2 separate regions of the Homo sapiens genome follow, and region 2 is linked to region 1. Evidence: promoter capture Hi-C in 16 types of primary human blood cells and fetal thymus (Javierre and others, 2016). All regions are on one chromosome and are shown on one strand. Each heading gives the region's core, a stretch centred on a gene start or on the middle of the fragment in contact. The rest is flanking DNA. Distances are from core to core; before and after follow the strand shown. Region 1 holds the start of GPR160 (G protein-coupled receptor 160). Region 2 holds the start of TNFSF10 (TNF superfamily member 10).

Region 1 (7,037 bases), core at 1,303-3,802:
GTGTAAAAAAAGCTGACCTAGCCTCCACCTGCATCAACTTGATCCGCTCAGCTTTGTCACACTCAGCAAACACCCTCTGCCTTCTGAGCAAAATAAATCGGCACCTCCAGTAGGGAGAAAAAAACTTTTTATGACCGAGTCTGGAGAAGCAGCCTTGACACCCAATTTACAAAGAACGAGCGTCTGCGGAAGACCTTGCATCTAGACTCGGCTGCAGTGCCAAACCTACCTTATGCAAAAAAGCTCCACAAGTGGTGGTGTTCTGTTTAAAGGAAAATGCCAAACACACACAAATACTGAAACAATAGCATAAGGACTTCCATAACCATCATCCAGCTTCAACTATTTTTATTTTTGTTTTACTTTAAGTTCTGGGATACAGGTGCTGAATGTGCAGGTTTGTTAATAGGTATACATGTGCCATGGTGTTTTGCTGCACCTATCAACCCGTCATCTAGGTTTTAAGCCCTGCATGCATTAGGTATTTGTCCTAGTGCTCTCCCTCCCCTTTCCCCCCACCCTCCGACAGGCCCCCGTGCCTGAAGTTCCCCTGCCTGTGTCCATGTGTTCTTCCCAGCTTCAACTATTAACAATCCATGAACAATCTCCTCTCATCTTGTTCCCCTCCCTTCTCTGCTAGCATCTAAAACTGAATAATTCTGAAGCAAATCCCAAAGCTGTATTTCAACTTCAGTCTGTGTCTCTACAGGGATTTTAAAAACCTTAATCAGGATACCGTTACCAAAAGTAACTAAACAGAACTATTATAATTTCCTTGATACCATCAAATAATCAGTAGAAATGTCCTTCATCGTCTCCTTATTTATTTATTTATTTTGAGACGGAGTCTCGCTCTGCCTCCCAGGCTGGAGTGCAGTGGCGCCATCTCGGCTTACTGCAACCTCCGCCTCCCGGGTTCAAGCGATTCTCCTACCTCAGCCTTCCCGAGTAGCCGGGATTACAGGCGCGTGTCACCACACCCAGCTAATTTTTGTATTTTTAGTAGAGAAGGGTTTCACCATGTTGGCCAGGCTGGTCTCGAACCCCTGACCTCAGGTGATCCACCCACCTCGGCCTCCCAAAGTGCTGGGATTACAGGTGTGAGCCACCGCACTCGGGCATCATCTCCATTTTAAAAAACATTCATCAAATCAGGATCCAACCAACGTCCACACCTTGTATTGCCACCGAATTTCTCTTAAATCGTTTTGAAACTGCACACAGGTCCTCCTCCCTGCAATTCGCATAGCAACCAAGCTGATCCTCACTGACAATTTCCAAATAACTATAATAACTCTATTCTGGAGATATCACAAGTGCCGGTCTTAGAGCTTGTCAAATGTATACATATATGTTTATATTTATATATAAATGCACAAAAGCACACAAGAAACCATTTCACTCGAAGCAATAACAATCCTGAGAGCTAAACACTCGTTCATGTCTTTTGTGATGCTTCTCGGTGGGGGTTATCTCTGGGATTTAAGCGACACTTCCCCTTACCGGAGACATTTGCGCAAGTGTAGGACGAAGCGAGAGCGGTTCCTTCCAGCCGAACCTGCCTCCGGAGGCCCGGTCCGTGCGTTCGTCTCCGGACTGCAGGGGGCGGCCCTGCCACCACCTCGAGGCCACCTGCGCAGGTGAGAAAAGGAGTTTCAGTCTCCGGGTTCCTGGGGGTGGTCGCAGGTAATCTAGAGGGAATTTTGAGCCAGCCAGGATGGTCATCCAGGAACCTACCCGGACGCAACGGCCTCGGAAAACAAATAGCCGGGCAAGGCCCTGGGGCTTAATCCCAGTGGCGGGCGCGGGCGGGGGCGCCGTCCCCAACGCTCGAGGCCAGGGGAGGGGAGGCAAAGTCGGCCCCAATGAATGCACGCACGCGCGCGCGCGCGCGTGTGTGTGAGACTATTCACCTCTGGGCGCCAGGAAAGAGCGAAGAGTTGCATACACCCATTTCTATAACCTTGCTGGGTTTGTCATGTTTAAAAAGCATCTCCCCTGGAGAGAGGGTGGCGAGTCTCTGGGTGCGGGACACGCCCATTCCCCAGACCCCCTGCCCTCAAACCCACGACAGACCCCAGTTGCTAAGGCTCCGCGGTAATCCCCATCCCGAAGCAGGAAGGCTCGGGCGTCCGGGCTCCACTCCTGGATCTCTTAAGTAGCAGAGAACCCCCAGCCCCTGAGTTCCTGCAAAGGAAATTCCTTCCCCTCCCAGGCGCGCTGAACGCCCGGCCAGGGAGGCTGGGAGCGGCGCGGGGACCGTTCGCCGCCCCGAGGCTGGGACGCCGGTGGCGAGAGCGCCGGGCGCCCTCCACCTGCGCCCGCACTCACCCGAGGATCGATGGCTGTCGGCTCCGCAAGGTTGAGGCCCCGACACCTGCAGCGCCCGTGCCCAGGTGACCGCCCGAGGGAGGGGCGAGGGCCCAGCTCGCCCGCCTGGTCCCGCCCCGCCCCGCCCCGCCCCGCGCGCTCCCGGGAGGGGCAGGGGAGCACGGCCCCGGGACCCCGCGGCGACCCTGCTGTGGCTCAGCCGGCTCCAGACCAGGAAATGCGGGCGTCAGAGACGGGCAACCTTTGAGCGCGCACGTCCCGTCCGGGCCCAACGAAACAAGGGCCGGAGGGCGCCGCCTGCCGGCGGGACGGAAAGATATCACAGAGACTGTCACCCCCCGCCGGCTAGGAGAGGGCTGAGTTGAGGCTGGCAGAGGGACGCAGCCAGGGGTGCGCAGTGCGGGAGCCGCTTGGGGGCTCAGTGAGACCCCCTTCCTCATGCCACATCTTGAGGACCCGGCCCCTGTCCTAGGAGCTCCCCATCTCCCCAGCAGGCGGGCGAGCGGGGGCCACTGGGTCAGGGCCTCTCCTTCCCTTACCTCTGCAAATGTAAACTTGGCAGTTGTCTCCAGATAAGAGTTTACACAGGGTGGCCAGGCGGTGGCTCATGCCTGTAATCCTAGCACTTTGGGAGGTCAAGGTGGGCGGATCACTTGAGGTCAGGAGTTTGAGACCAGCCTGGCCAACATGGTCCACGTTGGTCCCCATGTCTACTAAAAATACAAAAATTAGCCGGGCTTGGTGGCACGCACCTGTAATCCCAGCTATTTGGGAAGCTGAGGCACGAGAATCGCTTGAACCCAGGAGGCGGAGGTTGCAGTGAGCTAAGACCGCACCACTGCACTCCAGCCTGGGCAGCAACAGCAAGACTCCGTATCAAAAAAAAAAAAAAAAAAAAAAAAAAAAAAAAAAAAGAGTATACACAGGGTGACAGAACTTCTTGAAACTTGTATGCTTCTAAGCAACCGCCTGCAGTGTACTGTGAATTCAGATTTTTAAATAAAAATCTGCAAATATTAAATAGCCCATATATTGCATTGCCTTTTTTGTGTCAACAGTGCTAATTTGTTGTCATTCAACAAATATTTGTTGAGCACCTACGACTTGCCGGTCATTTAAACATTTAAAATATCGAACAATTAGGCCAGCGCAGTGGCTCAAGCCTGTAATCCCAGCACTTTGGGAGGCCGAGGCGGGTGGATCACTTGAGGTCACGAGTTCAAGACCAGCCTGGCCAACATGGTGAAACCCTGCCTCTACTAAAAATACAAAAATTAGTTGGGCGTAATGGCACATGCCTGTAGTCCCAGCTACTTGGGAGGCTGAGGCAGGAGAATGACTTGAACCCAGGAGGCAGAGGTTGCAGTGAACCAAGATCACGCCATTACACTCCAGCCTGGGCAACAGAGACAGACTTCATCTGAAACAAATAAAATAAAATAAAATATTGCACAATTTCTTCCTTCTCCTCTTCACGCAGAGCCTTGAACAAGGGGAGTGTCCTGAGCCTCTCAACCTCTCTGAGTGTCATAGCAGTTAGAGATTAAAGATGACCATGTCCATACACGTTTGTATCTCTCCACAATGTCAGTCTTTTTTTTTTTTTAAATGCTATTTCAATCACAAAATCCAGGAGCTACATGGAGTTCCCAAGGAGGCAATTCTCCTTAGTCCTTCCCATTCACTCTGTAGTCAGAGCACATAGGTTCAAGCCACTCCATAAGTCAGTAAATATTGCAAACCATACATACTAGTATACTTAATCACTATACGAATGTTGTAGATTAAACATTCCACAACAAAGTAATATTTAACATCAAGACGAAGAAGAGGAGAAAGGGTTAATGAACCAGTCCAAAGGGAGGGAAGAAGACAAAGGGAGTCCTGGTCTGGGCCTGGTGGTCTTGCAAGGAAGAGTCTTTGATGTGGCAGAGCTTTCGGTGGCAAATTCTGAGTTCTTATCATGAGTGACTGCAAGACGGTGTTAGTGAAGACAGCCAAGCTGAAGGCTTCGCTCTTTTACAGTCAGAGGGTCCTCTGGTGAGAACTTATAGTGGATGAGTGTGCTTGTTTGTGTTCTTTTTTAAAATTTGTTCGTCAAGCAAAACATCTTATCCTTGTTAGCAAAGTGCCCATGAAATATAAAATGGAGGGTTTTTCTAAGATGGAATTAGTTACCTCAAGGGTGGTTTATACACTGAGAGTCTGGACTAGCCTTGCAAGGAACTCAGTAATTGCCCAAGGGTGCAAGAAGAACCCTGATAGAATTAAGTGTGGGTTGCTAGGGAGACTGAGGAGCAGCTTCACCTGGCCTGGAGTGGCAGAGAGAACTTCCTGGAGAAGTGCAGAGGCCAACTGAATCACAGAGGAGTACCGGGTTCAACGGGATGTGAGGTGCTTCCGCCAAGATTCCAACGTGTGCAAAGTGGGAAGTGGAAAGCCAGGCAGAGAGTTCATGTTCTAATAAGGGAATGGCAAGTGGGTCAGAAGACCTGAGAGGGAGAGGATGGGAGTTGAGTTAGAGCAGAGGGCATGGGGGCCAAATCATACTCATAACAAAAATAACCATCATCTAGGGAGTGGATAGTATAGAACAGGAGCTGGACATACATAACTTCAAACGAGCCTCACGCCAACCCTGCAAGGTAGGGTTATTACTCTCCTTTATAGAAGAGGAAAATGAGAGCCGGGCACAGTGGCTCACACCTGTAATCTCAGCACTTTGGGAGGCTGAGGTGGGCAGACTGCATGAGGTCAGAAGTTTGAGACCAGCCTGGCCAACATGGTGAAACCCCGTCTCTACTAAAAATACAAAAATTAGCCAGGCATGGTGGCGGGCGCCTGTAATCCCAGCTACTCAGGAAGCTGAGGCAGGAGAATCACTTGAACCTGGGAAGCGGAGGTTGCAGTGAGCTGAGATCACACCATTGCACTCCAGCCTGGGCGACAAGAGCGAGACTCTGTCTCAAAAAAAAAAAAAAAAAAAAAAAAGAAGAGGAAAATGAGACTGAGACCCAGGAAGGAGAGACATATTGCTAGTGACAAGGCTGGGGTAGGGTAGCTCTGAGCAGCCAGGCTGCCCTGTCAATGCCTCTCTCCAGGCGGATCTGGGAGGCTGGATTTATCTTCAAATACTTTCAGCATCCCCAAGTGCCTGCCACTCTCCCACCATTTCTTAAGCCGATGTCAACAACTGCCCTGAAGTCTCTCTGTCTAGAGATGATGTGTACATGGGTCCGCATACCAGACTCCTCCTGAGGGGAACTCTGTCTCAGGGGCTGGTGGAGGAACTGTGGCAGACAGAGACCTTGGTTGCTCCCCACTGTCCATTCTTTCCTTCTTCTGTAATAAAGTCATGTGCTGCAATGACATTCTGGTTAACAATGGATCACATCTACAACAGTGGCCTCACAAGGTTAGAATGGAGCTGACAAATTCCTATCACCTAGTGATATCTTGATGATACTGACCCTGTGTAGGCCTGCACCTTTGTTTTTAAGAAAAAAAGTTTAAAAGGTAAATAAATGCATTTTCAAAATGGGAAAAATAAGCTTATAGAATAAGAATAGAAGAAAATATTTTTGTACAGCTGAAACGTATTTGTGTTTTAAGGCGTATTATTACAAAAGAGTCAAAAAGTTAAAAAAAAATTTAAAGTTTACAAAGTAAAAAAGTTACAGTAAGCCAAGATTAACTTATTGTTAGTGTAGCCTAAATGTAGTGTTTATAAAGTCTGCGGTAGTGGACAGTAATATCCTAGGCCTTTTCATTCACTCACCCACAGCAACTTCCAGCCCTGCAAGCTCCATTCATGGTAAGTGCTCTATACGGGTATACCGTTTTTATCTTTTATATTGTATTTTTACTGTGCCTCTTCTATGTTTAGAGACATAAATTCTTACCGTTGTCTACAGTATTCAGTACAGTTGCCTACAGTATTCAGTACAGTCACATGCTGTGGAAGTTTGCAGCCTAGAAGCAATAGGCTATACCATATAACTTAGGTGTGTAGTAGGCTATACCATCTAAGTTTGTGTAAGTACACTCCATGTTCACAAAATGAAATTGCCTAAAGACGCATTTCTCAGAATGTATCCCTGTCATTAAGGGGCTGTAATAGAACTGAAGCTAAGCCCAGAGCTTCGTGGAACAAAGACTATCTTTCCCTGCCTCCTTGTAGCAAAATGCATCAACAGTGGTGCCCAGAGCTCCTAGAAATCCAGAGTCCAGTGGTACTTCCGAGGCGGCTTCTCCTCTCCCGACATCCCTGATCCGTCAGTTCTTTACGGGGCACTGCTAACTGCCTCCTCAAATCCATTCTCGCCTTCTTAACTTCTAAGAGAACCCAGATTTTGTACAGGGAGGCAATGTGCCAAGCTAAGATGCCCACTTTCGCGAGGTCATCGCAGGGGTGATCACATGACATGGTTCTGGCCAATGAGATGTAGGAGGAAATGGTCCCGTGACACAATTCTGGCCATTGAGATATAGGAGGACGTCAGCTGGCAAGTCCTGGGAAGGTTTTTGCTTTCCTGTTGCGGGTACTACCCCTTTTCTCAGCCTCCTGTTTCCTTCCTGCTTTGAGGTTGCTGTGAGGTTGCCTTGAGGCTGGAGGTGGAGCAGTAGTCTTAGACTCTGGGACAGCCCACAATAAAGGTGGAGCCGCACCCACCTAGCTGTGCCTAGCTCCAGATGTCTTACTACAC
Region 2 (7,037 bases), core at 2,466-4,965, 2.5 Mb before region 1:
CAGAATATTGAGGCCATCCTGGCTAACAAGGTAAAAGCCCATCTCTAGTAAAAATACAAAAAATTATCTGGGTGTGGTGGCATGCACCTGTAATCCCAGCTACTCAGGAGGCTGAGGCAGGAGAATCGCTTGAACCCAGGAGGTGGAGGTTGCAGTGAGCGGATACGGCGCCACTGCACTCCAGCCTGGGGGACAGAGTGAGATTCCGTCTCAAAAAAAAAAAAAAAAAAAGGAAACAAGATACACTGGAAGTTCTCTAACCTTCAGTCAGTATGTTCCACACAGGGAATGAAGAACTTAGGCTATTCTTCTGTTTCCATCTATATATCTAACAAGAATTAAATTATTCTCAGAACTGATTATGCCAGTTGTAATTACATAGTTCATATAAATATCATGGAAGCCAATAAAATATGAGTTGTTTCTTGGAATGCTGAATTTAATGCTTTGTAAGGACTTCATTAAAAATTACTTAAAAATTATAAAACAGGCCGGGTGCAGTGTGTAATCAAGCCTGTAATCTCAGCACTTTGGGAGGCTGAGGAGGGTGGATCACTTGAGGTCAGGAGTTCAAGACCAGCCTGACCAACATGGTGAAACCCCGTCTCTACTAAAACTACAAAACATTAGCCAGGCATGGTGGTGCACAGCTGTAATCCCAGCTACTCAGGAGGCTGAGACACGAGAATCTCTTGAACCTGGGAGGCGGAAGTTGCAGTAAGCCGAGATCCCACCACTGCACTCCAGCCTGGGCAACAAAGTGAGACTCTGTCTCAAAAAAAAAAAAAAGTATTTTTAAAAGGTTCTCAGCCGGGTATGGTGGCTCACGCCTGTAATCCCAGCATTTTGGGAGGCCAAGGCAGGTGGATCACCTGAGGTCAGGAGTTTGAGACCAGCCTGGCCAACATGGTGAAACCCTGACTCTACTAAAAATACAAAAAAAAAAAAATTAGCCAGGTGTGGTGGCGGGCACCTGTAGTCCCAGCTACTCGGGAGGCTAAGGCAGGAGGACCACTTGAACCCAGGAGGTGGAGGTTGCAGTGAGCTGAGATTGTACCACTGCACTCCAGCCTGGGTAACAGAGTGAGACTCTGTCTCAAAATAAATAAATAAAATAAAATAACAAATTCTCACTCCAGTTTAAAGAAACTGAATTGCTGATTAAAGGTTATGGTTAATGTATGGATGCCAGTCAGCAGATCCATGCTAGTAATAATAATAATAATGGCTTTAGCTCTATATTATTTAAACATTGTTATAACAAAAAGATTAAGATTTCTCTATATCAAATATGTATATATAATATCTTCATATTTAATACGTTAGGAGGCTCAAAGATAGAGGTAGCCAGACCTCTTGACTTTTTTTTTTTTTTTTTTTGAGCTGGAGTCTTGCTCTGTCACCCAGGCTGGAGTTCAGTGGCACGATCTCTGGTCACTGCAAGCTCTGCCTCCCGGGTTCACACCATTCTCCTGCCTCAGCCTCCCAAGTAGCTGGGACTACAGGCACCCACCACCATGCCCTAATAATTTTTTGTATTTTTAGTAGAGATGGAGTTTCACCGTGTTAGCCAGGATGGTCTCGATCTCTTGACCTCATGATCCGCCCGCCTCGGCCTCCTAAAGTGCTGAGATTACAGGCGTGAGCCACCGCGCCCAGCCGACTCTTGTAACTCCTCAAATCACCCCATCTCTTGACCTGACCCCGAGATAAGCCTCCTTATTTCCACACTCTAGACTTTCTTACGTGCTTATAAGATAGAGATGTTGACTTCCTGCACGTTTCCCATTCCTTCGTTTCATGCCTTTCACGTACATCATAGCCGTAATGTTTCTATTTCTGGATTATAACAAAGGTGTTAAGTTGGTTTTCTTTGGTCTTCTCCCCTGTGTTTCTCTGCCATCTCTCGTTTCTTGTTTCTGCCCTGCCCGGCTGTGTGTCTTGTGCATTACGGTTATCCTACTCATCTTTCACCTGATTTAAAAAACTCATTCAGTCTAGGACTTAGAGTGTAAGTGTGTTCAAATAGTGTTAGGTTCACATAATGTCTAAAACTTTTAGTAGGAAAAATGCTACCTTGCCAATTTGTCTGTGTCTGAAAGGAATTTGCATTTAAAAATTTGGCAATTTGACAGAGGCAAATTTAAAATTTGAAAATATTTTCTTAAATATAGACTCATTTACAGATAGAAGGCAAGGGCAGGAAGTGATGGTGACCAGCGGTGCCTGAATGAACTCAGGAATGTAACTGTAGATCTAGGGTCCCAAACTTTAGGTTTCAAAGGATCTCTTGGAGTACTTGCTGAAAAATGTAGGTTCCTAAGTCCACTGCCAGAAACTCTGACTCAGTGGGTCAAGAATGGAATAACTAAACAATGGCCCCATGCAGTGGTTCATGCCTGTAATCCCAGCACGTTGGGAGGTTGAAGCAAGAGGATCACTTGAGGTCAGGAGTTCGAGACCAGCCTGGCCTACATGGTAAAACCCCATCTCTACTAAAAATACAAAAAAATTAGCTGGGCATGGTGGCATGCACCTGTAATCCCAGCTACTTGGGAGGCTGAGGCAGGAGAATTGCTTGAATCTGGGAGGTGGAGGTTGTAGTGGGCCGAGATTGTGCCATTGCACCACTGCACTCCAGCCTGGGCGATAAAGTGAGATTCTGTCAAAAAAATAAATAAATACATGAAAGAGAGAAAGAAAGAAAGAAAGAAAGAAAGAAAGAAAGAAAGAAAGAAAGAAAGAAAGAAGGAAAGAAGGAAAGAATAGAAAAGAAAAGAAAGAAAGAAAGAAAGGAAGAAAAGGAAAGAAAGAAATGCTGAATAAGATATAGAGACAACATACAGCTGGGCCAGCTTATGACATCTGATAGTGGGGAGATTTGGGGCTGGGTCCTGAATCTGAGGGTAATTAACTCCCTGTAACTTCTTTTCCTAATCTGTAAAAGGATAGTGACAGCGAGACATTGTGATGGGGTTAATATTTTGGAAAACATCCACATGTTTTTTTCCTTTGCCTTTCTGAGTGTGTCAACTACTTCCTACCTGTCCAGCCTAACACACAGGCATGTTGTCTTGGTAGGGATGGAGATCTGAGAAGGAGATTAGAATTTGTGTCTGAAGGTTTGCAAAGAGGAAGAAGTCGTCAATATTTAGATTCTGACATTCAAGATGGAATTATGTAGCAAGACCATTGCTATGAGACAGTATTTCTATTTTCCTTTATCCACTCCCACCCTGCCCTCTTCCCACCCTCACAGTAGCATGAGAAAAACCACATATGGAAGTTTCAGGTCATAAAAATTATCTTATAATTTAGAAAACAGGCCTTGTGCCTATGACAGCCAGGCCATGAGGCTTAGAGCTCTGTGGTAGAATGAGGATATGTTAGGGAAAAGCAAAGAAAATCCCTCCCCTCTTTGGCTGAGGACATTATCAAAAGGAGAGCAAGAAAGAGAAGAGAGAAATGGGCTTGAGGTGAGTGCAGATAAGGGGTGCATGGATCCTGAGGGCAAGGAGAGGAGCTTCTTTCAGTTTCCCTCCTTTCCAACGACTACTTTGAGACAAGAGCTGTCCCTGGGCAGTAGGAAAGGGGAGGGACAGTTGCAGGTTCAATAGATGTGGGTGGGGCCAAGGCCACAGAACCCAGAAAAACAACTCATTCGCTTTCATTTCCTCACTGACTATAAAAGAATAGAGAAGGAAGGGCTTCAGTGACCGGCTGCCTGGCTGACTTACAGCAGTCAGACTCTGACAGGATCATGGCTATGATGGAGGTCCAGGGGGGACCCAGCCTGGGACAGACCTGCGTGCTGATCGTGATCTTCACAGTGCTCCTGCAGTCTCTCTGTGTGGCTGTAACTTACGTGTACTTTACCAACGAGCTGAAGCAGGTCAGTGCAGTGCAGTGCACTCAGTCTTCGAGGCGCTTAGCAAATGTCTGGTTACCTGCTTCTTTGCATGTCAGCTTGCCCCTCTCTGAAGACTTTCCTGCTTCCTTTCTCTGTGGGTACACTCTAACTGCTAAATCACATAACAACTGAGGTCTTTGCAAAACTGTAAGTTCAAGAAATTGTGTAAACTAAGTGCAGTTACACAACTGGCTTCACTAGTTACTAGCAGATGTGGGCAACAAAACTCCTGAGGGATTTTTTGTTTTTAAAAGTATGTGTATTTTATAATATCAGCCATTGCAACTCTTCATGAAAGCTTTCTGCTAAATGCTTTGTAGTTCTTTTGTTTTCCTTTTCCAAACTTTTATTTGTGCACATTCAATTGAAAAAGATAATTTTTACAGGTTCTTTGGTGCCCATTTTCAGCATACAAAAATGTAAAAGACTATTCACAGATAAAACACATTAGCTCAAAATGGAAAAAAATAACAATGACAACAATAAAACAACCTAAGGTAGTGCACACTGTGACAGCTCTGCTTATGGGGACATGAGAATTCCTGCGAAAATAAATAGAATGTCCTTTTGTAAAAGCAGCAATGACATGTCTTGTAAACTTCCTTTTTTATATTATAACAAGGTTTGGAATAAAATCCAAAGGGACTGGAGCTTACACTGTAGCCATGAATAAATAAAAGAGTCTATTTCCTCAATTACCGTTGGTTCAGTTTTCCTTTTGAGTCCAATGTGCAGCAGGTTTTAAAAGGTGCACAGTAAGAGATTCTAACCAATTAAGTGGTGAATGATAAAATTTCTTTCCTGCTTTCAAACACAAATGGGTAAATCTGTTCCACAGCAGTAGCAACAGCCTTTAAATAGGGCCTTGTTACTGTGATACTTCCTGTCGAAAAAATCTGTAATGTAGCTCTTAGAGTCTTTATCCAATAGCACACAGCAGGATGAAGTTCAGATTCATAACTCACATGAGGTCTATTGCTCTTTGTGAATTCTGGCAAACAGATTTCTTTATTTTTAAATTTTTTTATTTTACTTTAAGTTCTGGGATACGTGTACAGAACGTGCAGGTTTGTTACATAGGTATACATGTGCCATGGTGGTTTGCTGCACCCATCAACCCATCATCTAGGTTGTAAGCCCCACAGGCATTAGGATTTGTTCTAATGCTCTCCCTCCCCTAGCCTCCCACCCCCGACAGGCCCCAGTGTGTGTGTTGCCCTCCCTGTGTCCATGTGCTCTCACTGTTCAACTCCCACTTATGAGTGAGAACATGCAGTGTTTGGTTTTCTGTTCCTGTGTTAGTTTGCTGAGAATGATGGCTTCCAGCTTCATCCATGTCTCTGCAAAGGACATGAATTCATTCTTTTTAATGGCTGCATAGTATTCCATGGTGTATATGTGCCACATTTTCTTTATCCAGTCTATCACTGATGAGCATTTGGGTTGGTTCCAAGTCTTTGCTATTGTAAATGGTGCTGGAATAAACATATGTGTGCATGTGTCTTTATAGTAGAATGATTTATAATCCTTTGGGTATATACCCAGTAATGGGATTGCTGAGTCAAATGGTATTTCTGGTTCCTTGAGGAATTGCCACACTGTCTTCCACACTGGTTGAACTAATTTATACTCCCACCAACAGTGTAAAAGCATTCCTATTTCTCCACATCCTTCCAGCATCTGTTGTTTCCTGACTTTTTAATGACCACCATTCTAACTGGAGTGAGATGGTATCTCATTATGGTTTTGATTTGCATTTCTCTAATGACCAGTGATGATGAGCTTTTTTTCATGTTTGTTGGCCACATAAATGTCTTCTTTTGAGAAGTATCTGTTCATATCTTTTGCCCACTTTTTGATGTGGTTTTTTTCTTGTCAATTTGTTTTACAAGAAACAAATTCCTTGTAGATTCTGCATATTAGACCTTTGTCAGATGGGTAGATTGCAAAAATTTTCTCCCATTCTGTAGGTTCCCTGTTCACTCTGATGATAGTTTCTTCTGCTGTGCAGAAGCTCTTTAGTTTAATTAGATCCCATTTGTCAATTTTGACTTTTGTTGCAATTGCTTTTGGTGTTTTAGTCATGAAGTCTTTGCCCATGCCATCTTGAATGGTATGCCTAGGTTTTCTTCTGGGGTTTTTATGCTTTTAGGTTTTACGTTTAAGTCTTTAATCCATCTTGAGTTAATTTTTGTAGAAGCTGTAAGGAAGGGGCCCAGTTTCTGTTTTCTGCATATGGCTAGCCAGTTTTCCCAGCACCATTTATTAAATAGGGAATCCTTTCCCCATTGCTTGTTTTTGTCAGGTTTGTCAAAGATCAGGTGGTTGTAGATGTGTAGTGTTATTTCTGAGGCCTCTGTTCTGTTCCATTGGTCTATGTATCTGTTTCCATACCAGTAACATGCTGTTTTGGTAACTGTAGCCATCTTCCCTGCTTTGTTGTTGCAGGTTGGAGTTACAGTTCTTGACTCATGAATTCTTGAGGGTGAGGGTAGCTGTATCAGAGCTGTGTCTGCTTCTGCTCATTAGTATACCTCTGGGTCTAGCATGTGGTTCCCAAGTAGCCACTAATACTAATACTTGTGGTTCACTACATACTTATTGAGTGAATGAACAGCCTTCACAGATGTGGTAGGCACCACGAATATGCAGGCGACAAGGGTAGAGTCAGGCTCAACCCAAAGCCAGGCCCTAAGTCACTGAACACTCCCGTTTTGTATTCCAGATGTAGCTAGTCCTGGTGAACTTTCACATCTTTGAAATGTTTTGCTTTTAGTTATGTGGCATTCCTGTGTTGACAATAAGTGAGAATACAAAGGACTGGCATTCTGCCTATTCCTGGGGCACGGGCATGTCATGGGTAAAATCTGTAATAAAGAAGTTATCAGATAGACACAGCTGTTCATGATAAAACAATTGAAAAGCAAACTGCCAATCTCTGCCTGTGGATGGTCCATGTACAAATTGAGGTATCTTTGACAGACAAAACAAACAAACAGTGCTATTTTAATTTATGATTTTCTCGATGAAAACCCCTGGAACTATGACTGCAAAATTGCTGAAAATAAACCAACTCAGTTTTTGACTTCTAATATATATTTTAATTCATTGTATATTAAATAGTAGA

What was found. The method cuts DNA at HindIII sites, captures the fragments that hold promoters and counts their contacts. A CHiCAGO score of 5 or more calls a contact.
Region 2: a contact is called between the fragment with the promoter of TNFSF10 here and the fragment with the promoter of GPR160 in region 1, in 1 of 17 cell types (neutrophils). The highest score is 5.1, in neutrophils.

Annotation. Positions count from the first base shown.
Region 1 is chr3:170,033,510-170,040,546 of GRCh38, reverse strand. It overlaps GPR160 (G protein-coupled receptor 160), which reads right to left and starts at 2,552. Exons shown (of 4, transcript NM_014373.3): 1 at 2,332-2,552; 2 at 1,504-1,632. RefSeq lists silencers at 1,528-1,577, 1,738-1,787, 2,098-2,577 and an enhancer at 1,173-1,672. The HindIII fragment of the contact is 12,490 bases long and covers 1-5,884 here.
Region 2 is chr3:172,520,108-172,527,144 of GRCh38, reverse strand. It overlaps TNFSF10 (TNF superfamily member 10), which reads left to right and starts at 3,715. Exons shown (of 5, transcript NM_003810.4): 1 at 3,715-3,892. The coding sequence starts at 3,761. It also overlaps the pseudogene TBPL1P1. RefSeq lists an enhancer at 3,734-3,783. The HindIII fragment of the contact is 8,260 bases long and covers 1-4,210 here.